Regions from separate parts of the Homo sapiens genome. Here regions 1, 2, 3 and 4 are each linked to region 5. Evidence: promoter capture Hi-C in 16 types of primary human blood cells and fetal thymus (Javierre and others, 2016). All regions are on one chromosome and are shown on one strand. Each heading gives the region's core, a stretch centred on a gene start or on the middle of the fragment in contact. The rest is flanking DNA. Distances are from core to core; before and after follow the strand shown. Region 1 has its middle 19 kb from the start of TCERG1. Region 2 has its middle 52 kb from the start of POU4F3. Region 3 holds the start of TCERG1 (transcription elongation regulator 1). Region 4 overlaps PRELID2 (PRELI domain containing 2). Region 5 holds the start of PLAC8L1 (PLAC8 like 1).

Region 1 (5,450 bases), core at 502-3,001, 320 kb after region 5:
AAAGTAGCTTAAACCTTAAGGATACCTCATGTAACAAGAAGTCTGAAGGTAAGTGGCTCGAGGGCTGGTCAGTTTGTCAGCTCAAGGATGTTGACGCCCTCTTCTGTCAGTTTCTCTGTCGTTCTCTTGGCTTTGCCTCATGGGTGCATGATAGGTACAACCGCGTCATGCATCATGTCCTCATGTGACATCCAAAGCAGGCAGGAAGCGGGTGGGCCAGCTCCCTCTCAGGCCTCCCCGTCTCGTATCAGGGATAACACTCTTTCCCATAATCCGCCCCCCAGCCCCGCAAAAGTTCCCTTACCTCTCAGCGCTCTTACAAACCAATGATGTATTCACCACCTGAGGTTGTTCACCTGAACAAACCTGATGAGGAGGGTGGTTGCTGAGTGGGCAGCCAGCGGTGTTGGCCACAGGAGCCAACCAGACTCCCCCCGCTCAGGAAACTAAGCCTAGAAACGCAACTTGTGTGTGCTGTTAGCAGTCCAGCTGATGGTGAATGGACAAGAAGTTGAGGACATGAGCCATGGATAAGCCAAGGTTAAGACAAAAGAAAACACCATCTCTATCCCTGTAGTGATAGAGGGTGAGAAAGCCATTTGGTAGGGAAAGTGAAATAGAGCACATGGTCTGAGTCAGTGAAGCTGCCCTTAGGGTTAGAAATGGCTCCCCCAGCTGCCTGGATCCCTGATGTTTTCTGGTTAAGATTTCAGTTCCAGGCCACATAGAATGGACTAGTCAGAACTCCTTATTGGCCAGTAACAGAACAAAATACTGCCCTGGCATCAAAGAGGAATTAGTTTAAAATGTTCAGGAATGTCTTACTATCTAAGGCAAGAATTGTAGGAAGTGTAGCCAGGCCTTAGAAAGTGCTAGCACCAGGTGGCTTCTCTTTGACTCTTGTCTCTGTGTTTCTCTACTGAGCATTTTATTCTTATCTCTGCAGTAGATAAGCAAATATCTTCGCATCTGGTCTCCAATGTTATTATCATACATCCACCCACATCTCCTGAATTCTCATTAAAGTTTTGACGCTGCTGAGAGCCCATGTGGTAGACAGTCCCTCGGTCCTACTTTCAAATTCCCAGAGGAGAGAAGCTGAGAAGCCTAAGTTGGGTCAGATGTCCAATCTGTCAAGTCCATGGGCTTCAGGTCACAACAGATAAATAGTGGGTAAGGAGGAGGAGTATTAGGAGAAAGGGGTCACTGATGTAAGGCCGCAAAGATATCCCAACGGCATCCACTATGATCCCCTTAAAGTACTGGTTCTCAAGGTTGGGGGTAGGAATTCCTCCCCACCCCCACTTTTGGCAATGTCTGGAGGCATTTTTGGTTATTACAGCTTGGGGGGTGGATGCTACTTCCATCTAATGGGTAGAGGCCGGGGTGTTGCGAAACATCCTAGAATGCTCCTATGACAGAAAATTACTTTGTCCAAAATCTCAATAGTACTGAGGTTGAGAAATCATGCTCCCCTTTTGATCCTGTAATGGGCCTTTCCACCAAATGGAGCATCGGTATTCACAGAGCACAAACCCATGCCTAATATGTAGGAGGACTCTTAAATATTTGCTGGACAGAAGGTGAGTGAAAATACCATTCTAAAACAGGGTGGACACTGATTCTACTTCTGATTACCCAGGTTCAGGGTGTACTCTGGGTGAAGCCACCATGGGAGCGCACAAAGGCAGGGAATGGTGAAATTCTTGCCTTGGGGAGTGGAAGGTAGGGGTGTGTAGAACAGAAGATGGAATAAGCAGAAACAGATGCAAATAGAAGACAGAACCATAAACCCACGCACAACTTGCTCTTGCAAGTGCTCACAACACAAGTAGCAGCTGCTTCTCTGGTACCTGCCCCTCCTACACACCATAAGGGAGAGCTGCCGAGCCTTAAGTCCTAAACAGCTGTAGGATATGATATAAGCATCTTTCCCCCCAGTAATTCGTCGGGCAGGCAGGTACAGGCTCCAGGCCACTGGGGTTTCTTTTTTGGTTTAGTAGATACATGTGCTTTCATTTCTTAAGGAACATTGTCAGCCTGAAATCTTAGAAAAACAAAAACACCTGTAAATAATTCAGAGTGAAGACAACTCCAGAAATAAGGAGAGGGAAGAGTTTGTAAGGCTGAGTATTTTCCTAAAACTCCTGACAACCAGAGTCTACTACTGGGCAAAGGAGAATAAGTTTTCTGGCAGAAACGCCAGAAAAGTTAGATAATGCAAAGTCTTTGCTGCCCTCTACTGATGAAAATGAAGACTAACGTGTGGTTTGAGAGGAGAGAGGTTTTTCAATTACCATTCCATTTTTTCATTTACTTTTTCAACACCTATTTACTCAGCTTATACTTGGTGCAGGTGATGTGCAAAGCATTGAGTACAGTAGCAAAAATTACAGAGCAGGTGCTTGTTCTCATGAAACTTACAATCTGCCAAAGGAAACCAATTTTGTATGTCAACAAACAGGAAACATTTTAAGGTTGTTGAAAGTGCTCTGAACGTTAACAGGCTAATGTGGAGATGTGTGGGTGGGGGAGACGGGGTACAGGGGGATGGCAGGCAATTTAAGAATGGAAGGTTGTGACAACGCCAGCTGTGCCAGGAGAGGCCAAGAGCTTTTCATGCAGAGAGAGAAGTGGGTGTAAACTCCAGAGACAGAAAAGTGCTCCCTGGGTCCTTGAACTCCGTGCAGGAGCAGAGGGCTGTGTGGAGAGGCCAGAGAAGTGGGCAAGTACCAGTTCACAGAGGGTCCCAGTATTTTGCCCAGGAGCTGGGATTTTGTTTGGGATACATTTTATTCAGAAGAGGAAGCTATTGAGCATTTGCTATTTTTGTCTTTCAAGGACTATTTTTTTTAATAGTACATACTCGCTACAGGGTATCAATAAAGATTTTTTTTTCCCAGAAATATCAGAAAGTTTAAAAAGTGCATACATTAAATAACTATATTAACATCTAGAGAAGCCGGGCGCAGTGGCTCACGCCTGTAATCCCAGCATTTTGGGAGGCCGAGGTGCGTGGATCACTTGGGGTCAGGAGTTCAAGACCTGCCCGGACAACATGGTGAAACCCTGTCTTTACTAAAAATACAAAAACTAGCTGAGCGTGGTGCCACGCACCTGTAGTCTCAGTTGATCCAGAGGCTGAAACACGAAGATTGCTTGCACCTCGGAGGCGGAGGTTGCAGTGAGCCAAGATCGCACCACTGCACTCCAAGCTGACTGACAGAGCGAGACTCCATCTCAAAACAAAACAAAAATCATCTAGAGGATTATTTTGTCTTCTGTGTGGATGATGGACAGTAGGGCAGCGGGGCAAGAGGAGGAGACAGAGCCAGGTGGTGCTGTGTGGGAGTCAAGCTGGGAAGATGGACAGAAATGAATGGATATGAGGTGGCTTTGGTGGTCTCACCTTCAGGACCCTCTGGTGGGTTGGATGTGGAGGACAGTGACACGGAGAGAGCTGCCAAGGCTGTGAGGACAAGAAAATCAGCTATGACACACGTTTGAAGAGCAGTGGCACCTGCAGGCTCCATCCCTGGCTCTTTGCTGGCCAGTGGGCCAGGGCCATTTGCCTGCCCACCATGCTCTCTCCTCCTGCCTAGTCTGGGTGATTACACCTGACAGGGTTCAGAGAGGCATCCCTCATAAAAATGGCCATAAAGCCGTTTGCTAATACGAAGCCTCCCATAAATGTCAGGTGATGAGAATTACAGCCCCGCAGGCTCATAAAAGAGCATGTCATGGCTTGAGGAAGCCACAGCGACGGTGAGGGCACCAGACTGTCTTTCCAAGCTGTATTTTAGTTTCGGGGAAGATATGACTGGAGGAAGTGCAGTGCTGGCTGAGGCCAAAGTGGCTCAGAACCTTAAGTGAAAGGCCCAGTTATGAAACCTGTCAGCAAAGCTTCCGTCCCGTGGCCCAGGGCTTCTTCAAGGTGAAGTGGAATGTATTCTGAACTTGTAGAACTTAGCCAGGAGGAGTAGGGGCATTAGTGAACCTGGCCTCAGGCAGCCTCTGATTCCGGGGAATAAACAACATACTGTTTCCTACTTTTTCCAATCCTTGACCCACCTGTCAGCTAATTAGTACATAGCCCAGGTGTTCTCTCTGCCTTGAGCTGCTCCCCTGCTTACCATCTGTCTAGCAATCCTTTGATGCACCCCATATGTCTCACAGCCCTGACCCCCCAACCTCTTTCTTTCTCTCCCTTTATTTTTTTTCTCTCTCTTTCATGTCCAGTCAACATTCAGCTAAAAATCGCTGGTATCCTATAATAAACATGACATTGTGCTGGGATTCTGGAAACCAGGCTGGGGGCAAAGAAACATGATATGAAGACCCCATCCAGAAGAAGTTACACATCTAGGACAGGCAGCTAGGTGAGTAACTTCTTCTGAGAGCACATCCACACTTAAAAAGTAAAACAATAGTAAATAATTGTGGCCAATATCAATATTGAAGGCTGATTGCATGCCAGGTACCTGCCAAGGGCATTAGCTCTTGTGGTCCTCCTGATAACCTGTTGAGGTGAGTACTACTATGATTCTCATGTTGAGATCAAGAGGCTGAGGCTGGGGAGGTGGGGACCTTTGCAGGGCGACATAGCCTGTGACCTTTTTAAATGCAGGTTGGCATGATCCTGAAGCCTGTATGCCGCTCGGCTCTGGCACATCAACCAGGATAAACTGAGGCTCCTAATAGTATGGGCATATCCTGCATGCTGCTCCACTTCTGGGGCCACTCTGCCTTTTGCTCGCTCTTAACTTTTCTTCCACACACACCACACATACATGTGCACACACACACATCTTGATCCATAATCCCATCCTGACCCCTATCCTTTGGATCCTAATGACATTTTGACATTGAATAAAAATTATGCAAAATTATTGCCTGCTCATTGAGAGAGCAATTTCAGGAACAAACACCAATAACCCCAATAAATTCCAATAAACTCAACATAATAATTAGCCTTAATAAATAATAAACACCAATATATTTTTGAATCAATTTTTATATTACATAACGTTGTTTTAATTTTGGGGATTAATTCTTTTTGGTTTCCTAAAGTGGTTTCTTTTCTTTTTTTTTGAAACAGGGTCTCACTCTGTCGCCCATGCTGGAGTACAGTGGCATGATCACGACTCACTGCAGCCTCAACCTCCTAGGCTTAATTGATCCTCCCAACTCAGCCTCCCAAGAAATAGCTGGGACCCCAGGCGCGTGCCACATGCCAGGCTAATTTTTGTATTTTTTGTAGCGATGGGGTTTCACCATGTTGTCCCGGCTGGTCTGAAACTCCTGGGCTCAAGTGATTCACCCACCTCGGCCTCCCAAAGTGCTGGGATTACAGGCATGAACCACTGTGCTTGCCCTAAAGTTATGTCTGGCAGTTCTTTATGTAAATTTTAGAGTGAAAATTTAATCATCAAGAGTTCTGTCTGCATCAA
Region 2 (5,154 bases), core at 2,034-4,533, 290 kb after region 5:
AATGTGCATTATTAAAAGATGAATAGCTTAAATTCTGAGAGGAATTATTATAATTTTCCTTTACATATATCTTGGACTACTATGTTTCCTGTTTTCACTTCATCATACTCAATGAAAATCATCTACCTACTCTGAACTTGTATCCCTGCAGCTGAATGTGCTGGAGAAAATCCCACAACCACATTGGCAGGTCTTACCTTAAAAGGATGGCTTTGAAGCTCAAGTGTCTCCTTATGCTGCCAAGCAACCTCTTATTTGCCCTGGTTTCATTCACTCTCCTATAGCTGAGGCAACTATTTTACACATTTTTCTCTCCAAGTCTCCAACGTCTTCTCTGCAATCCTCATTTTTAACTGGTGAGTCAGTTTTATACTTCATCAAAAAAGCCGAAGCAATCAGCAACCAAACCTAAACCTCTCATTTTCCTCCACCTACTCTGCCTTCCTGTTATTGTTGATGAACTTTCCATACACTATCTAAGCTGATTCCTTTCCTTTTGAACTAAATCCTTTTCTTTCTCACCTACTTCAAGACATAACTCCAGCAAATCTGTCCTTTCTCCCCATATAATCAATTTTTTACTCTCTACAACACATTTTTTGCTCTGTTGTTCCTACCTTACAAAAACCTTCACTTGACTCCATTCTCCCTGCCAGCTGCTACCCTAATCCTTTGCTTCCCCTTTCATCAAAACTTCTCAAGAGTTGTCTGTGCTTCCTGTCTTCAATTTATCTTCTGTCAGTTTTCTCTTTTTAAAAAAATTTTGTTTTCAAAAAATAGAGATCAGGTCTTGCTCTGTCGCCCAGTCTGGTCTTGAACTCCTGGGCTCAGTAATCCTCCTGCCTCGGCTTCCCAAAGTGTTGGGATTACAGGTGTGCGCCACCGCATCCAGTCTCTCAATCTCTCTTGAACCCAATTCAGTCAAGTTCCTTCCAAACTGCTCTCATCCTGTTTACTGATAACCTCCACTTGGCTAAAGCCAATGGTTAATAATCAGTCCTCATCATTCTAAACCCATAAGCAGCATTTGACCAATGGATGCCTCCTTTCTCTTTGGTAAACTTTTTCATTTTGTTTTCAGGATAACACATTCTCTTTATTTTCTTCTGTCTCACTGCTTAATCCTTCACAGTCTCCTTCTCTGGTTCCTCCTCTTCTCTCCAAGCTCTTAACTGCAGTGTCCTGGGCTCAGTCCCTGCACCTCTTCTCCATCTACACACACTTTATTGGTCATCTCATCATGCCCCATCTCAATTCTGTTGACTCACACATCTTCATTTCCAGTCTTCATCTCCCTCCTGAATTTAAGACTTATATATCCAACTGCTGATTCAACATCTCCATTTGGGTGTCTAATAGACACTTGAGACTTAATGGGTCCAAGGCTGAACTCCCAGTCATCCTCACTAAACCTGCCCTAGCCCAGCCATCCTTTCCCATCTCACTGTATTGTAATTCCATCCTTCTAGTTGCTGAGGCCAAAACCCGTAGTGTTATTCTTCACTCCAATTCATCAGCAAATCCTGTTAGCTCTGTCTTCAAAATATATCTGCCCACTTCTTACACCTCCACGGTTACCACCCTAATCCAGGATATTGTCATTTCTTACAATAGCCACCTAACAAATAGGTTCCCTTGCTTCTACCCTTGCCCCTCTTTGTTCTGTTCTCAACAGAGCAGCTAATAGAAGTCAGAGTATGTCTCAAAATCATTGCTCAGAACCATTCCCTCAGGGTAAACACTGAAGTCTTTGCAGTGGCCCACAAGGCCCTGCGTGGACTGGATTCTTGCCCACTCTCTGACTTCATCTTCTACTCCTCTTCCCTGCTCATGGCATTCAAGACACTGGCTTCCCTGATGTTATGTGAACATGCCAGGCCACTGTGCCTTAGGATCTTTGCTGTGGCTCTTCCTTCTGCCTGGAATGCTCTTCCCACAGGCATCTATTTGCCTATCTCTGTCACTTCCCTTAAATCTGTGCTCAAATCTCACCCCCTCCCCTTCTGAACATCCTCTATAACATTCCCCAGGCCCAGCACTCATACTTTTTACCCTGCTTACCTTTGTGTTTTTAAAAAAACAAAACATCACTTTCTAATTTACTTATCCTTTTTACAGTCTATTTTCTGACTGTTTGTGGATTTATATTCTACAAAAGCAGGGAATTTTGCTTTCAGATATAATTTTCCCAAGCCTCTAGAATGAATAGGATTTCTCATCTTTGACACTACTGACCTCTGGGCTGCATAACTCTTTGACATAGGAGGCTGTTCTGTGCATTGTAGGATGTTTAGCAGCATCCATGACCTCTAACCACTAGCTGCCAGTAGCACACCGCCTCCTAGTTGTGACAACCAAAACTGTCTCCAGACATTGCCCCATGTCCCCTGGGGGGCGCAAATAGTCCCCAGTTGAGAACAACTTTTCTAAAAGAGTGTCTGCCACTAGCAGACATTCAATAATTATTTGTTGAAGGAATGAAAAAAGAATGAGCAATTTTTAGGTACCTTTATTCTTCATGTATTCCCCCAGCATTCATCACTTACCACAGTCATCACCAGGAGCAGCTCTCAATCTAAAGAAGTGAAAGGCTAAATCTCAGGCATTCGTAGGATACAATGGCTCTCTCTATTATTGTTTTGTGAAAGACAACATGTAGGGGAGAAAGATATGATGGGAAGGGTAGTAAAATAAAATCAGGATAAAGACACTCTGAGAGGCATGCCACCTAGCAAGGTATTGCTTATGAGAATTGTGTGGATTTGCTCAATAAGATTTGTAGACCTTGAGACAATAAGCTTTCTTTCACACTGCTTCCTTTCTGTTTTACAGCCATTGTTCTTCCCCAACACACCTATGGATCAGTTTGAGGTTTCAACATTTGTTTATCTCCAAAGATAGTTGTAATAAAAATAACATTAATAATAAGAATGGTGTTTGTTGAACACTTACTGTGTCAGGCCCTAGGCAGTATCATTTAACTCATAACAACCTTTTGGGGCAGTTCCTACTGTTAGCACCCGTTCTACATATGAAGAAACGAAGGCTCAGAAAGGTTAAGTAATTTGTTCAAGGGAGCACAGCTAGTAAATGTCCAAGGCAGCACAGCTAGGATTGAGAATGAGCTAGAATGACATAGTAATGAGTATATAATATATATAATATTACTCATATATAACAGGTATAGCATAAGTAATATAGTGACAATCACAAGACTTGTGCAGAAGCCAGTCTCATTAATTAATAGCCACGTATGCCATCTGAGGCTATCACTTCTTTTCCACGGTCAGAAAATACATAGCACATTATTATAAAGACAATAATAATGGAAGACTTTTGCTGGTTCTTTGATTTGAATGCTCTTTTTTATTTTTAAACAAAAAGTACTCTATAGGAAAGAATGAAGCCATTAGTGCTGTTCAGTGAAAAGACTTAGTGGACTTTAGCATGATTTCACACATAAGGAAAGGCTGTCACTGCCAAAGAGTATTTTTCCTAAAGAATGTTTCCAGGGCCCAAGAGTCCTTTAAGCTAAAGTACTTATTTGTTGATTCATTGTTTTTTATGCTGAAAGGTACATCAGATACATGGTACAAAATGCAGAAGAAAGGAAATGATCTAGAGTGAAGAATAAGTGTCCCCTCCTCTGCTGCCTCCCAGCAACCCAGCTCCTCTTTCTAGAGGCAATTCTTGTCTCCAGTTCCACATGAGTCCTCGCAGGCCAGTGCTTAAAGAAGCATATAGAGGACTTCAGGGCTTCATCTGTAGAAAGCTTCCCTGTTTCCAGAGCATGTCCACATGCATTTTCTCATCTGAACTTCTCAGCAAACACCCCAAATGCATGAAAGAAATTTGTTGATAAACTCCATGCTTGTCCCCTTCATGTGATTCATCCAGGGTCCTAAGATGAGGACTGGCATTTAACCTCTGGAAAGTACGTGGAGCCCCTATTTTCATTCTCAATTGCATTGTTTAACAAGGTCTGACCTTTCTCTTGCAAGTTGCTGCAATCTCTTCACCCTTTTGCAAAAATCTGATCACAAAATGCCCCATGGGCATTAAGTCATAAAATCCAAATAAAATGGGTAAGACTTGACGATGTCGGCTTAAAAAAAAAAAAGTAGTGATCGTTGAATTTCCTTTCACATGCATGTTTCTCCCCTCCTTTGCTGGGCTCAGATGCCAGCTGTACGTTGCCATGGTCTGAAGAAGGACCTGTGGGTCTCCCCTGGCAGATGCTGCCACTGTTTTAGCCTGAGGGCCCTGCAGGCAGCCCCTGGCAACATTTTTAATTCAACATCAAACTGCAACTTGAAATTTGAAAAAGTGGGGGAAAAATGACAAGATGTCAATGTCTCAGAACCTAGCAAGTGGGGCTTGTAAATATACCCGATTTGGATTTCTTTGAGCTGGGGGAAGTTTCTCATTTTTTGTAGCCACTGGGAGTGACTGAACCCCATCAAAGAGACCTTAAAGGATGCTGAAAGAGCTCAAAGGGGATGCTATGTCTCAAGAAGAGAGCTCCAGACCTGGTCAGAGAGCCTTTTAAATAAGTCAGGTGGCAAGCTGGCCAGGACACATTCTTAAGTCAAAAAGGCAGATTGTAAAACAATAAAGGTCCCATCTTTTGGGGGAAAAAATATGTGTGTGAATGCACACCAAGAAGTTTGGAAGGCAATACTCTGTAATATTTAAAATCTCTTCTTATATCTTTATTGTCTGAACTTTTTGTTTACAAAGATCCTATATATTACTTTTAGAACGAGAAAAAAATACGGTTTGTATAAAATTTGAAAATAAAAAAGATAACAAAGCTGAGTTCCTATTCCCTCAGTACCCACAGGCTCCTGGAACAGAACGTAGCAAGTCCACCATTGCCCAGGCAGCTTGGCTGAGTGCTTAAATCTCCAGATACAGTTCCAGGGGCTTGTTCATCCAAAAAGGTACCTGGCACAACGTGAGCAGCAGTTCTGCCACAGCTCCCAACTTCCATCTGAGTAGAACTTCACAGCTACCCTTGCTTTCATCATTTCCTTTCACACCCACAGCACGTCTGGAAAGTATATGGAGCCACTCTTTTTAGTCTCAACTTGCAGATAAAGAAACTGGGTGTCAGAGAAATTTAAGAGGAAAGCAGTGCATTTGAATGGAAAC
Region 3 (4,879 bases), core at 2,352-4,851, 340 kb after region 5:
GGGGTCAATAATTCAATGGTTACCAATTAAGCAAGGATGGTATTTGCTATTCTGTTCTATATAGTTGTGTACATTATCAGTATCCAAATAGTTATCAAGCTTTGACTATCGGAAAGTCCATTTGGTCTCTTAAAAGATGCACTGAATCTCTTCAATTCCTTTTTCATTTTGATTCAATAAAATGGTTCACTCTAGAAAAGCTGTGTAGACATAGTTCAAGTCAGAAATTTGCAATATGTTATAAATAACTATTGAGCCAAACTACCTGAATTTGAAGGACATTTTTATGGGGATACACTATAGCAATGAAATAATGAAATATATACATATATACACATATGATTATCATTACATGTGATAGATATACATATGTATATACTTAATCTATTTAAAAGATTATACTATAATATAAATATCTTAAAGTATATTTAGATAAAAATAACATAATAAAAACTATCAGATAATAAAATTTTTAATACCTGCAAGGAGTTTCTTCAACTGACAGTTTGTTTTCATTTTTTATTTGAGATGAAGTCTCACTCTGTCACACAGGCTGGAGTGCAATGGCGAGATCTCAGCTCACTGCAACCTCTGCCTCCCAGGTTTAAGCGATTCTCCTGCCTCAGCTTCCCAAGTAGCTGGGACTATAGGCACGTGCCACCATGCCTAGCTAATTTTTGTATTTTTTCAGTAGAGACGGGGTTTTGCCATGTTGGCCACGCTGGTCTCGAAATCCTCAGGTGATCCACCTGCCTCGGCCTCCCAAAGTGCTGGAATTACAGGCGTGAGCCACAGCGCCCGGCCTGTTTTCATCTTTTATATATGCTAGTGACTTATTTTCTATAAGCTTTCTATTTTGAATCTTTTTTTAGTAGGAATTAGTTTGTAATGAGCCATCTATACCAGTATTATTTTCAGAATATTGACCAGAACTTGGGGATACACACTGATGTTGAAAAAGGGATCTAACTCCCAACTTTTAGTCAAACTATAGTTTGTTCAAATGCCACACCTTTTTTTTTTTCTTTTTTAAGACAGTGTCTCACTCTGTATCCCACGCTGGAGTGCGGTGCTGCAATTACAGCTCACAGTAGCCTCGACTCAAGTGGGCTCAAGCGGCCCTCCCACCTCTGCCTGTCAAGTAGCTGGGACCACAGTCATGCACCACAATGCCTGGCTAATATTTTTGATTTTTTGTAGTGGTGAGGTCTCACCATTTTGCTCAGGCTGGTTTCAAACTCCTAAACTCAAGCAGTCCTCCCGCCTTGGCCTCCCAAAGTGCTGGGATTACAGGCCTGTGGCACCACACCCAGCCTCAAATGTCACATCTTTAACAAAATTTTCACCATGCTCTCCTCCAATTACTCATGCTCAGAACTGTGTGAAGCCTTTATCACAATTTATCATATTTAATTGATTTTGAATATTTAACTGGAATTCAGTGTAGAATGGTGTTTTTGAATTAAAATATAATTCACATACAATAAAATTCACCTTTTAAAGTATACGAGTTGGCTGTATGCAGTGGCTCACACCTGTAATCCCAGCACTTTGGGAGGCCAAGGTGGGCAGATCACTTCAGCTCAGGAGTTCAAGACCAGCCTGGCCAACATGGCAAAACCCCGTCTTTACCAAAAATATAAAAAATTAGCTGGATGTGGTGGCGGAGGCCTGTGGGAGCTACTTGGGAGGCTGAAGTGTGAGGATCGCTTGAGCCTGGGAGGCGGAGGTTGCAGTGAGCTGATATCATGCCACTGCACTCCAGCCTGGGTGACAGAGTGACACTCCCTCTCAAAATAAGTAAATAAATAAATAAATAGTATAGAATTCAATGGGTTTTAGTATATTCACAAAGTTGTGCAACCATCAGCGCCAATTCCAGAACATTTTTATCATCCAAAAAGACATTCCATATCCATCAGCAGTCACTTCCAATTCCTCATTCCCCTCTACCTCCTGGAAACCACTGTTCTACTTTCTGTCTGTATGTATTTGCCTGAAATGCAATGCAATTTCATCATATTTCATGTAAATGGAATCATACAACAGGCGGCCTTTTTGTATGTGGCTTTTTATGTCTGAACAATATTTCATTGTACAGTTATACCATGTTTCTTTTTTTTTTGAGACGGAGTCTCGCTCTGTTGCCCAGGCTGGAGTGCAGTGGCGCGATCTCTGCTCACTGCAAGCTCTGCCTCCGGGGTTCACGCCATTCTCCTGCCACAGCCTCCCGAGTAGCTGGGACTACAGGCGCCCGCCACCACGCCGGGCTATTTGTTTTTAGTAGAGACAGGGTTTCACCGTGTGAGCCAGGATGGTCTTGATCTCCTGACCTCGTGATCCGCCCGTCTAGGCCTCCCAAAGTGCTGGGATTACAGGTTTGGGCCACCGCGCCCGGCCTATACCATGCTTCTTAACCATGCATCAGCTGATGGTCATTGGGTTGTTACAATACTTTTTGGCTATTATGAATATTGCTGCTGTGAACATTTGTGCACATGTTTTTATGTGGATCCAATTATTTAGGCTTACAGTATTTAAGAGTGCTGCTTTGCTACTACGCTGACTGGGGTTAAGACCAGGCTCTGCTATTTAGTAGATGTGTGACCTTGGGCAAGTTACTTAACTTCTCTGTGCCTCAAGCTCATCTACAAACAGTGACTATGTTACCCACCTCCTAGCAATTTTTGAATCTTAAAAGAGTTAACGTACCTGACATACTTAGATCCGGGTTTGCTACATGGTTAGGTCCAAGTAAAATTTATCTATTAGTATTATTTTAATATTTTTACGACTTTAATAAAAGGGCTCATCTTCATTGTGCCTTTGAAACCCCAAATCCAAAACTTTTTTTTTTGTTAATTAGAAAAACTAAATAAATATTCAGAATTGTCTGGTATTCTGGGTGTGCTAATTTCAGACAAGCACATTTTGAGATCGAGGGAGACGTGGTTAAGCTGTAAATTGCAAAGAGGCTTGCCTTCGCCAATTTACCTTTCTTAATGCAGCAACTTATAACACCTATTGGCTTGCAACGGTTTAGTATAATTTGGGAGGTATTCTTGTAATTAATAATATATTATTTAATAACATGGATATAGAGCTGAGTGGTGACTTAAGACTCCTGCTACTGTAAAGCTAGGAAATAGCGGCTTTCCACAGCAACTGTGCAATCGGTTTAGGCGCGGCCCAGGTCGATTTTGATTGGCTTGCCCAGTGGAAATGCTCTCCGCCTGAGCTACTACTGGCCAATATGGCTCCACAATTGGCTCTCCTGGAAGCCGACAGACACGTGGCTACCGCAGGCTGAGCCGAACTTGGGAGGACTTAGTTCTGCTTACCGCGAGAGGGCGCCGGCGGTTCCTCACTGCTAAAATCTCATTTCCCATAAAGCCCCCGAGTCACCAATCAACTGGCTGTCTTCATACCGCTTTCAAAGTCGGCGGGCGCCTTGCCCAATAGCAAAGAACATATCGCCCCCATTTCGAAGATTGATGGAAAGTTTGACCAACCGCATCTCAGACTTCTGCTGTCTCCGCCTCTCTCGTTGGGGATTGACGATTTTTCTAGCCAATAGGAGACGTCGGGTCGGCGGGTGGATGAACGCGGCCCTCTGTAATGGCGGAGCGTGGCGGGGACGGGGGCGAGAGTGAACGATTCAACCCGGGGGAGCTCAGGTAAGGAACGCTGCCCTCCTTCACATCTCTGCTCACGAGAGCCCCAGAGGCTAGACGCTAGACCTGCCATGTGGAGATCCGGGGCGGACGGTGGGTAGCGGAGCCGGGCGGCCCGGGCCGGGACCGCATGGGGTTTAAGAAGGGGGAAGGGGAAGGTGGCTTGAATGAGAGCCGGGCCCGGGCTGGGCCAGGGCCTCCTGCGCGTTCCCTGGCTGCTTCCTAGTGCTTTCTTGGGGCCTCGCCGCCTCTCGCGGCCTGCAGCCCTCTGGCCGGGCGCGGTGCTCCCGCCTTTGGGCCCCGCCTCAGCCGCGTGTCGCCTCCGTCTCGGCCGACCTGAGTCTGTCCCCAGGCCGCGCTCCGCTGCGGGCCTGATTTTCCTCATCGACGTCTCTGCACTCCGCAGTTACTTTCCCTGTACCCCTCGCCACTTCTGGCTAAGCCTTCTCCACGCCCTCCGCGGCTCTTTGGGCTCCCCACGTTTGCCCTTTCATTTCATCCCCCTCATTGCTTGCCTTTCTTAACTTCTGTGGCTTTTCTTCCTTTTTTCATCCCTTTATTCCTTATTATCCTGTAGTTGTGAGTAACAACAACAGTAGCAACCCCTTATTAGGCACTTACCGTGTGCCAGTAAACCCTTTACTTAGGTTTGTCTCATTTAATCCTCACAACCACCCTTTGGAGTAGTTGCTATTAACATTTTGCAGGCCACAGACCAGAGGGGTCTTCAGTTGTTACTCGCCCATCTTACAGGTGAGATAACAGCCTCGTGGAGGTTGAGTCAGTAGAATAAGATTGCATAGGCGGATTTGTGGCTCCAGGAAGTGGCTTGAACTCAGGCAGTCAGGTTTCAGAGCCTGCAATCCCAATTGGCGTTCTATTCGTCTACTACTCATGCCATTTCCTTGAACAGTGCAGTGACCTTTTTTTCCCCTGGAACCTCAGTGTCTATGAGTTTGTAATTAAAATTTGGTAAAATGAGAGTGACCTGGAGAAATCTTTTGGTCAGTGGTTTTTGAGGAAAAGAGGTATTATGCTTTATGTGTATTTGGTACTTTGGTTTTTTTCTGTATGGGAGAAATGGCATTTCAGATGTTCAGCTCCCATTCTGAATTGTGCTGTTGTCAACGTTTGAAAATGAAAAAGAGCAGGGTAGATTATGAAGACTCTGTTGATACTGTCTTGAACTTAAGATGAAATTGTGT
Region 4 (5,188 bases), core at 2,661-5,160, 280 kb before region 5:
CATAATTAATTATATTAGCCACATTTCTCTCTCATAAGGGAGTAGACTTCCTATTGTTACCGGCAGCAAACCTGTACGGTTCTGCAGCAACCTCAATTATGGTCTCCTCAGAAGAAGAAGGAATTCGACTGAGGGGCATAAGGCAGAAGGAGGGACCAAGACAAGTTTTAGAGCAGGAGTGAAAGTTTATTTAAAAAGAATAGGAAATGGCTATTCCTGTTCTTTTTATAAACTTTCCTAAACAGGAAAAAGCTATTCCGCTTCCTTTAGAATGGGAATGAAAGGAAGGAAAGTACCAGTTAGAAGACAGCCAAGCGGGCAACCTGAAAGGCAGGCGTGTGGTCTGACCTTTCGACTTGGGGTTTTACGCACGTTGGCATATATCCGGGGTCTTACATCACTTCTCCCAACTCCTGAGATCTTATCAGGAAGCTGCTGATCATCAGTTTCAGGTATTTTCTATCTATTAGAAGCGTGCCTTTGCCTGGTGCCAGCTGTGACCAATTATTACTTTAGAGAGACAGTTAACAACCGCCTGACCGTCACCTGATGGTCATCCAACTCTCCTGGGTGTGTGTGTGTGTGTGTGTGTGTGTGTGTAAGTCCTCTTCTGTGTGTGTGTGTGTAAGTCCTCTTCTGTGTGTGTGTATGTGTGTGTAAGCCCTCTTCTGTGTGTATGTGTGTGTAAGCCCTCTTCTGTGTGTTTAAGCTCTCTTCTGTGTGTGTGTATGTGTGTAAGCCCTCTTCTGTGTATGTGTGTGTAAGCCCTCGTGTTTGTGTGTGTGTGTGTAAGCCCTCTTCTGTCCTGCTCATACCTGACTAGCTACCTACTGTAACACTAGGACTGCAACCATTTTGTTCTGCGGTGAAGTTTCCAGAATTAAGCCAGGGATGTAAAAAACAATGTTAGTTAAGAAAAAGAAAGGCAGAGGCAGAGAAAAGAATAAATTCTGAAGTGCAGTCTTCTGCTTTGTGAATCACTGTGACTTAGCCATGCTGTTACAGGTTTTCTCAAAGCTCTGGCTATAGTAGTCCCAACCCTTGATGCAAAAACCCTGACTGCCCAGAAGCTGTTGATAGGGTGCAAACCCCTCTGCCCATTGGCCCTCCCTTTGGCCATCTCATCCAGTGTTTGCTGCACACATACTCGAAATGGATTAGCCACTCCCAAAGGCAAAGATGCCCCTGACGATGACAGAAATTATAATTAACATTTCAATTTAGAATATGCACAGTGTTCTCTCATTTGATCTTCCTAACAACCTAAAAACAAGATTATTTTCCCGTTTGACAGATGAAGAAACTGAGGCTCCAAAAAGTTGGGTCACCAAGGTAGTAATGAAATCAAGATTTGAAATCCAGTTTGTCTGATGACAAATAATAAGTTTCTCTCACACTGCAGGTACATGAGAAAATATTTTTAATATATCTATATGGTTATAGAATTACAGAAAATGCATATACAAGCAAAAGGCAGTTATGTTTACCAAGCACAGAGAGGGCTTCAGAGTCACACACAATGAACAGTAGCATCTCATGATTCCTAAGAAGGGTAAAGAGCATGCTGGACCTAGGCCCCAGTGTCCCCAAAGCTTTGTACATTGACTATGTGCATTGTCACAGCTTCCTGCATTGCCCAGTTCTCAAGTTTAAACACTGACACTAATAATGGTTTTTGCTGGAGATGGGGATAACACAGAACAGAAGAGATTCCTATGCTCTAGACCAGGAATCAGTAAACATTTTCTGCAAAGAATCAGGTGCTAAATAATTTAAGTTTTGTGGGCAATAAAGTCTCTGTGGCAACTGGTCAACTCTGCTGTTGTAGTGAGGAAGCAGTCGTAGATGACATGTAAACAAATGTGACTATGTTCCAGTCAAACTTTATTTACTAAAACAGGCAGCACAAGCCATAGCTTGTCAACTCCTGATTTAGTCAATGCTAAACCACACTGCCTAGTAGTTGTGATTCCATAAGCCATCACTTTATAGTCATATCTCGTATTTAATCATATGCATTTTGCCATCTACAAAATGATATAATAGGCTACAGCCATGTGACCTTGAGCAAGTCACTTAACTTCTCTGTATCCCAGTTTCTCCATTCATTAAATGAGTAGTCTAACACCTATTCCAAACATTGTTCTGAATATTAAATGAATTAATAAGAGTACCTGCCACATATTAAGTGCTCAAAAATGTTAGCAGTTACAATTATATATAGCTCAGTGTTGTCATCAATTATTAGTTAGAAAGTGACAAAAAGCATCAGCAGGCCTTTTACTATCACAAATCCTGGTGCTCTACCTGCCACACCTTTCTAAGTCACCTCAAGTACAGAAATATACCTGTTTAAAAACTAATAATGGAAGAAACTGCAGGTGAACAATTTTTTAAAAAAAACCTAATAGGCCACACACACACGTACACACATCTTTACAAAAATCACTATCATTTAATGATCATTACTGAAAAAACTGTACAGAGAACTTACCTCTTTTTTCCTCCATGATTTTTACTGAGATGACATTTTTATCCATGGGGTTGGGGTACTAAACAAAAATATATAAAAAAGAATTACCATTAATCTTCTACCAAGGTGAACTATTTAGAAGTAACCACAGCTGTCTGCAGGACTAGTAAATATTTTCCAAGAAACTTCTAAACAAAGCCCAGTTTTGAATCATGGATCTTAATTTTATAACTTGGGCCTAGATAAGTGAGATGCTATCATCATCTTGACTTACATGAAATCTGGGGAAAACCTTCTTTAGATCCAACTAGCCCTGAGGGGGATGAGGTTAAGCTAATCAGTAAATAATAATACTATTAATATTGAACCAGCCTAACATAAATCAAGAGTGTTCTTTGTGCTAGGCACTGTACTAAATGCTTTCCTTGCACAATCTTGTCTAAATCCAACAGCCTCTCTGTTATAACTGATTTATGTGATACCACCATCCCCATCTTTCAGATACGGAAACTGAATGAAGACTGGATTGCTTAGGGTCACCCAGCTGGCTCCTGGTGGAGCCAGGGAATTAAACCAGGCCTGTTTAATACAGAGTGGACCTCTTCACTGTGGTCTAATATCATTGTCTGGTGGCTGGGTTAGCATCACAGTAGCATAGTCATAGAAGTATGCTTTGCTAGGCACATAGTAAATACTCAATAAATATTTAACATGTTAATTTAATTCCCCTGAAAAGCAATTTGGCTGTGACAAGGTTGATAATAGCCACTGCTTTTGTCGTAGGCAATTTAAATACTTTAGATACATTAGCTCAGTTAATTCACAAAACCATTCTATAAGGTATGTGTTATTTTTTCCACTTCATATATGAAAAATAAGGCTTAGACAAATTAGATAATTTGCTCAAATTGTCCAGCTAATGAATAGTGTATCTGGGGGGTAACATAATTTACCCCCGATACTTTCTGCCAGCCTGCAAAGCCTGCCCACCTAACCTACCACCAAATCACCTAAGAGTTAAATTAACACAATCCTTTCCACTACTCAGATGTGAAAAGAGAGACACTGGGAGCAGAAGTGACCTCCTAGAAGCCACAGGACAAGGTAGCTGCTGACCAAAGCCTACTGAGCCCCCTTGGACTCTCTTCCCTGAGGTTTACCGACGTATCATGTGATCAAATCTGAAAAGAAAATTGGCAGGAAGTCTTATCCATGACATCACAAAGTGCTGAGCAGAAGGCAAAAGCAGCAGGCAGGCTGAGGGGAGAAAGAAGAAAGGCCCCTCACTTTGCAAACTTGAGCTTTAAGTTTTCCGAACCCTAGGAAGTGAAATACAAAACTCTGACTGTGGGTCTCCACCCACAGCAGGCGTGTGTGTGTGTGTGTGTGTGTGTGTGTGTGTGTGTGTGATATTGATTTATTAATGGATTTTTCAGGGAAAGGGGTTCATCATTTTAACACATTCTTAAAGATATCTGTGACCCAAAAAGACACTAGATTAGAACACAGGCTCTCTGAGGGCAGGAATACTGTCTATTTCAGTTACTCCTGTATCTCCAACAGCCAGCGTAATGCCTGGCACATAAAAAGCACTCAGTCAATATTTTCTGGATAAATAAAAAATTGGGAATATAAACCTCAATGACCTCAGGGATCAATTTGGAAAATGAGCCTGCCTTCAGTCAGAAACCAATCTATGAAGAGAGCAGTGGCTCAGCTTTCAGCAACCTCAATATCTCTTCATGTTTCATGTTGGTAAACTCTGTCATTCACACTTCCATCCTGGAAACTGAAATCTTGATAACTGATGAAAAACTTGGTTTTTAAAAATCTATTTATTTATATATTCATTCATTCACTCATTTTAGCCCTAGAAAAAAAAATGCTTGGCTGGGCATGGAGGTTCATGCCTGTAATCCCAGCACTTTGGGAGGCTGAGGCGGGTGGATCACTTGAGGTTAGGAGTTTGAGACCAGCCTGCCCAAAATAGTGAAACCCTGTCTCTACTAAAAATACAAAAATTAGCCAGATGTGGTGGTGCATGCCTGTAGTCCCAGCTACTCAGGATGCTGAGGCAGGAGAATTGCTTGAACCTGGGAGGCGGAGGTTGCAGTGAGCCGAGATCATGCCACTGCACTCCAGCCTCGGTGATAGAGTGAGACTCTGTCTCAAAAAAAAAAAAAAAAAAAAAAAAAAAAAAAAAAACTTGGAACTACAGTGATTGCTTTCTTGAAGTTCAGCCCTTCCGAGTTACATGCCCATGACAGAGGGTCAGGTTTAGATACTCTGCTCCTCAGGAAAGGAGACTTTCGCTTACACAGTACCCCTAAAGCAAGGGAGATATTTGAGACTCACACAGGTCCTCTGAATTGTGATTATATGTGTATAAATTATAACTTGTACACTAAAGTAAAATGTGCTTATCTCGTTTACTACAGTTCTAGTTTGTTCATTACATACCCATAAATATATATTGACTGAATATTACAAATTCAACATAAGTTGTAGAAAGATAACTAAACTATAAAAGACGTTGAAAATGTAAACACCAGGGAGACATGATGATCAAATTTTTCAAGTTCTGATTACTTCACTAAGCTATCAGAGAAATTCTTAAACATTATAAACTCAAATACTTCACACTTACATAATTTTTGGAGTTGAACAGCCAAGAGCCTCAAGTTTCCATAGAAGAACAGTAGAAGAAAGTAGGGG
Region 5 (5,249 bases), core at 812-3,311:
GGCCCAGGACCAAGGGTTTTCCCAGGATAGGGAAGTTTTAGTGCTAAAACCAGTACAGTTCCAGGCAAACCAAGATGGTTGGTGATCCTAACCCTCAGAAGGTGAGGGAGGCTTTAACTCAGGAGGCAGGAGGCTAACTCCTGTTAAAGTTTGATGGATGAGATACATACTTTTCCCTCTTTTTGACCTCACTCCATTCCTCTTCCTCTTCTAGCACAAGCCCTACCATGTCTCCCACATGCCTGGTTCTTCAGCCTGGGGTGTTACATGTCACTCTTCCGTAATCACACTTGGAGTATTGTGAAATCATTCTGCCTTGTACCTAGGCCTCCTTGATTATTTCAAACTCAGCTGAAGCCAAAACCCTTGAGTTTTCATTTCAAAAGGGTGGAAATGATTGGCAGTCTCTAAAAATAAAGTTCCACTTGGTCAGGGTTCAACATTTTAAGAATAAAGAGATACCATTTCACCCAAGCCAGCCCTTTTCTTGTCACCAGCCAAGAAAGGCCAGAAGGAACAAATCAGTTGCCCTCTTTTCAAGTTTGCATGGAGAAAAGATAGCAACCACTTTCTTCCCAAGCCCAGTTTTCTTTTCCCTGGTTCCTTATAAGTAGAGGTTGATTCGATAGTCCAACTAAAGAGCAAAAGCTAGGGGAAAAACTCACCCTATTCCCTACCTCAAGTTGGAAATAAAATGTTCATCTTCAGATGACATGTGTGACAACAGAGGTGAGTATATGTTGAGTAAGGAAAGATCCTCAGGACACCTGAAGAAGTTACTTCCAAACCAATTCATAGTGAGAAGTGTTTTCTTGTCCTTTGGGCTATCCTTTTTCCCTTTGGCAATAAGCTGGTTTCTAAACTTCGGATTAGTCCAAAGTGAAACATCTCTTGAAAGAATGTTCCCTTAATATTCTGGAACCTGAGGTCATAGCAGTGTAACTAACAGACATCTTTTTTCTTTAAAAACAGGTATACACCTAACTGTGGACACATTCATCTTACTAATCTGTAGGGAGATATTGCTGGAGTATAGAGTAAATAGAAGAAAAAGACTTATCTTTGGTGGAAAACTCTTTAAGAGATGCCTCTAGTAAACATTTATCTAGCTAAGTGCCACTTGACCGTTCCTTGGAAGATTCAGAAGGCTGAAAATTTCTGCCATGCCATGTGACTGAGAAGCAGCAGAGACCTCTCTTCATCCCCTGAACTGCTGGTCCAATTCAGCCAGATGATGCAAGTCCCATAGCCAACCCAAAAGCAGGAGCAAAAAAAAGTCTTTCAGCGCAGGTATTGTATTTGAATCCATCTTATGAAAGGTGGTCTCCTCAAGTTTGAGCTATGGTAGATTGTCACAAGCCTCAAAGCCTTTTCAGAACTTCTAGAAATTCTCTGCTCTTCCATTAACTTCATTGATAATGCCAGGAAAGTGGCATTTCTTTCCTACCCAGTCCAGACGGAATCTAGTAACTGAAGCAAGGCTTGCCTGGTGATGTCCTCACAACAGCTCTGAATCCTCAAGGTCTCAGGAGCCTCTGAATCATGCCTCTGGCACATGTCTTATGGAGGTGTGGACCCTAGAAATATTAGGAAATATCCTAAGACAAAAAATTAGGCAAAATTTCACGTTGAGGAAAGGGCTCTGCAATCATAATTTGACATTACATTAGAAAGACATCAGGAGGATACTGCCAATTATATCATATATTCTTTTCATCAGACCCATAGAGAATGGTTGCTTAGGGTTCTGAACTTCAAAGCATTTATTGAACCAGGTTGTTAGGAAAAGCCTATAATACCTTCCAAATCAAGATTCCTCAGACATAGCTTCATAACTGCCTTCAATCATGGGGTTCTGGGCAACTGTCATTGTCTTCTTAACAGTAAGGATGTACCCTACATTAAGGACAGGTATGTTTTTTCTGCTTACTACTCTATTCCAAGTGCTGACCACAGTGTCTGGCACATAAAAAGCACTCAATAATTTGTTGAATAAATGTGCCCTACATGAAAATTCAGGTTTATAAGAATAACAGAAATTAAGAGGTGATTACTAGCTTTGCAAAAAAAAAAAAAAAAAAAAAAAAAGATTTACAGTAAGATTCCTTTGAAGAGTAAACCACCATGGTACATATAAGCTATGACTCCATATTTTTACATTTCATTTGCGCCCAACTTTTCTAATCAAACGTCTATTGTATGAAGTGACTAATCCACATGCTACACAGCTTTTTCATTTAAAAATAAAATGAAAAGAATAGAAAAGGCATGTGCTTTATAAAAGAATGCCAAATATTTATGAAAAAGAAATAATAGCATTAGAATATCACCATTTTGCATAGCCCCAGCATAACAACATATCAGGAAGGAAATTCAGAAGCATTAAAACCATTAGATAAAAAAGATTAGGAACCAAATATTCTCAAGGTGCAAAAATATAACTATTCCACATATTTCTAATTGCAAAAGAGAAAATGTACCTTAACTATGAAAAATTCCAGAAGTACTCAAAATGCATATTTACATTGGAAAGTTCTGAAAGTGTAAGAAAAAAAAAGTACCCTTACAATAAAAGCTCTGGGTGTGATTTTAACAAATATGCCTTTACATCAGAAGGTCCTAGAAGTGATCAAAATGTATCTTTAACATTACCCTTCACCCTTCCTCCATGATTGTAGGTTCCTGAGGCCTCCCCAGCCATGCCTCCTGTATAGCCTGTGGAACTGAGTCAATTAAAACTCTTTTTTAAATAAATTACCCAGTCTCAGGTAGTTTTTTATAGCAGTATAAAAACACACTAGGCCAGATGCAGTGGCTCACACCTGTAATCCCAGCACTTTGGGAGGCTGAGACGGGCAGATCATCTGAGGTCAGGAGTTTCAGACCAGCCTGGCCAACGTGGTGAAACCCCATCTCTACTTAAAAATACAAAAATTAGCCAGGCGTGGTGGCAGGCACTGTAATCCCAGCTACTCAGGAGGCTGAGGCAAGAGGATCGCTTGAACCTGGAAGGCAGAGGTTGCAGTGAGCCAAGATCATTCGACTGCACTCCAGTCTAGATGACAGAGCAAGATTCTGTCTCAAAAAAAAAAAAAAGAAAAAGAAAAGAAAACACACTAATACAAGCTCTATGCACAGCAGAGGGCCATTACAAATCTTATTGATGCTGTAAATTTTGGGGTGAAGTATTTTCTACCTGACTGGGGTCCATATAAACTTCTCCTTTCTCTGACCTCCTAATGGCCCTGGTAACACTGGCCTTGGTCAAATACATTCCTGTTTTCCATGCACGAATTCTTTGTTGTCTAAGTGCAATGAAGATGGAGGCCAGGGCTCTAATTCAACTCTGCTGCTAATACATAGGATCTTGAGCCAGTGACTTTGACCTGTTTCTTCATGTGGCTTCCTTGCTATTCCTTCAGCACACCAGCTACATGCCCCTGCCTCAGGGCAAAAAATGCTTTTGACCACATACGTGCTAACAAAACTACATATGCATTTACCCTCAGACCCACAAGCCCACTTCTACAAATTTACTCTGAAGATATACCTCCACAAAAGTGAAATGACATTATTCATGAGGTTACTCACTATATCATTCCATACACATTCTATAAAATATTAAAAACTTAGAAACAACCTATATGTCCATCCATGGAGACTGGTTGAATAAACTAAGGTACACCTTTACAATAGTATTACATGAGCAAGGAAAGAAGAGGGGCAAAAGAGGAAGGAGGGAAGAAAAAGGAAGAGAAAAAAAGATTTTTTCTTTTTTTTTTTTTTTTTTTTGTGATGGAGTCTCGCTCTGTCGCCCAGGCTGGAGTGCAGTGGTGCGATCTCGGCTCACTGCAAGCTCCGCCTCCCGGGTTCACACCATTCTCCTGCCTCAGCCTCCCGAGTAGCTGGGACTATAGACACCCGCCACCACGCCCGGCTAATTTCTTTTGTATTTTTAGTAGAGATGGGGTTTCACCATGTTAGCCAGGATGGTCTTGATCTCCTGACCTTGTGATCCACCTGCCTTGGCCTCCAAAAGTGCTGGGATTACAGGCGTGAGCCACCACACCTGGCAGATTTTTTTCTTTTTAAAGAGCATGATCACAGCTCACTGCAGTCTTGAACTCCTAGACTCAAGTGATCCACCTGCCTCAGCCTCCCAAGTAACTGGGACTACAGGTATGAACCACTACAACTGGCTAATTTGAAAAAAAAAATTTTTTTTTTAGAGACAGGGTCTCACTATATTGCCCAGGCTGGTCTTGAACTCTCCCACTCCAGCCTCCCAAGGGGCTGGGATTACAAGCACAAGCCACCACATCTGGCTGAATCATGTATTTTTACTTATTCAAAAATCAGATAAAAAGAAAAAGCAAACCATAAAACTGAATATAAAGAGAAATGAATGGCTTTAATTTTATATTAAAAGCACATACAAGAAAGAATCCAAGAAACATTTCTTGATTAAAGAAAAAAACCAGCCAGGCATGGTGGTGCATGCCTGCAGTTCCAGCTACTTGGGAAGCTGAGGCAGGAGGATCACTTAAGCCCGGGAGATCAAGGCTGCAGTGAGCTCTGATTGCATCACTACACTCTAGCCTGGACCACAGAGTGAGACTCTGTCATCAAAAAAAAAAAAAAAAAAAGCAAGCAACCACATACAAAAAAGAATTCAGGAAATATTTAAATAGTGCTCTGACTATATCCCTTAGAGAAATATGTTCTAAGGACACAAAGAATTGCAAAACAAACAAAACCAAATACTGTACTTATTTATTGCTAACAGAATTGGATTGGCAATTCTGAAATTTTTAATAGACTAAATGACTAAATATATTGAGGTTCTTGAGAACCAGAGTTCTCACTGTGTGAGAAGGGAAATACAATTGCAAAGGGGAAAAGATGAGAGAGAATTCAGTGGTATTAGATAAAATTATGATTTTAAAAAACACTACTGTATGTATTTCTTAGTTCTGTCTATTGGAAGGGCCTGAAAAACAATGTCCTAGTAGCGCCTGGATCTTGGTTTCTTAATAACACTCTCCATTAAAATGAAGCAAAGCTCTCTGGAGAAAAGACTGATTTCTAGTTCTGAAACAGAAAACACAAGGCAAGTTGGGAACTTCTTATGCCATTATACAAAGAAATGCCCCAAAATTAATGTGGAGTTATAAAAAGGACAAATATTGTACTGCAGCCAGCTTGAATGGGGCTTCCACTGGTTAACTCAGAATTTGAGCGTTCAAAGA

The links. Contacts are between HindIII fragments. The CHiCAGO score rates a contact against its expected background, and 5 or more counts as called.
Region 1: a contact is called between a fragment that was not itself captured here and the fragment with the promoter of PLAC8L1 in region 5, in 3 of 17 cell types (activated CD4 T cells, total B cells and non-activated CD4 T cells). The highest score is 6.6, in activated CD4 T cells.
Region 2: a contact is called between a fragment that was not itself captured here and the fragment with the promoter of PLAC8L1 in region 5, in 1 of 17 cell types (non-activated CD4 T cells). The highest score is 5.4, in non-activated CD4 T cells.
Region 3: a contact is called between the fragment with the promoter of TCERG1 here and the fragment with the promoter of PLAC8L1 in region 5, in 5 of 17 cell types (activated CD4 T cells, non-activated CD4 T cells, total CD4 T cells and 2 more). The highest score is 7.7, in activated CD4 T cells.
Region 4: a contact is called between a fragment that was not itself captured here and the fragment with the promoter of PLAC8L1 in region 5, in 1 of 17 cell types (erythroblasts). The highest score is 5.4, in erythroblasts.

The regions. Positions count from the first base shown.
Region 1 is chr5:146,425,110-146,430,559 of GRCh38, forward strand. No RefSeq gene overlaps it. Among named protein-coding and RNA genes, the nearest start is that of TCERG1, 19 kb to the right of the region's middle. The HindIII fragment of the contact is 4,299 bases long and covers 1-3,901 here.
Region 2 is chr5:146,388,320-146,393,473 of GRCh38, forward strand. No RefSeq gene overlaps it. Among named protein-coding and RNA genes, the nearest start is that of POU4F3, 52 kb to the left of the region's middle. The HindIII fragment of the contact is 974 bases long and covers 2,797-3,770 here.
Region 3 is chr5:146,443,732-146,448,610 of GRCh38, forward strand. It overlaps TCERG1 (transcription elongation regulator 1), which reads left to right and starts at 3,602. Exons shown (of 23, transcript NM_001382548.1): 1 at 3,602-3,677. The coding sequence starts at 3,619. RefSeq lists an enhancer at 3,265-3,972 and a silencer at 3,891-3,970. The HindIII fragment of the contact is 4,342 bases long and covers 846-4,879 here.
Region 4 is chr5:145,820,583-145,825,770 of GRCh38, forward strand. It overlaps PRELID2 (PRELI domain containing 2), which reads right to left. Exons shown (of 7, transcript NM_205846.3): 2 at 2,495-2,552. Among named protein-coding and RNA genes, the nearest start is that of PRELID2, 12 kb to the right of the region's middle. The HindIII fragment of the contact is 4,641 bases long and covers 1,591-5,188 here.
Region 5 is chr5:146,103,516-146,108,764 of GRCh38, forward strand. PLAC8L1 (PLAC8 like 1) reads right to left here and starts at 2,062. Exons shown (of 4, transcript NM_001029869.3): 1 at 678-2,062. The coding sequence starts at 796. RefSeq lists a silencer at 157-357. The HindIII fragment of the contact is 7,482 bases long and covers 1-5,249 here.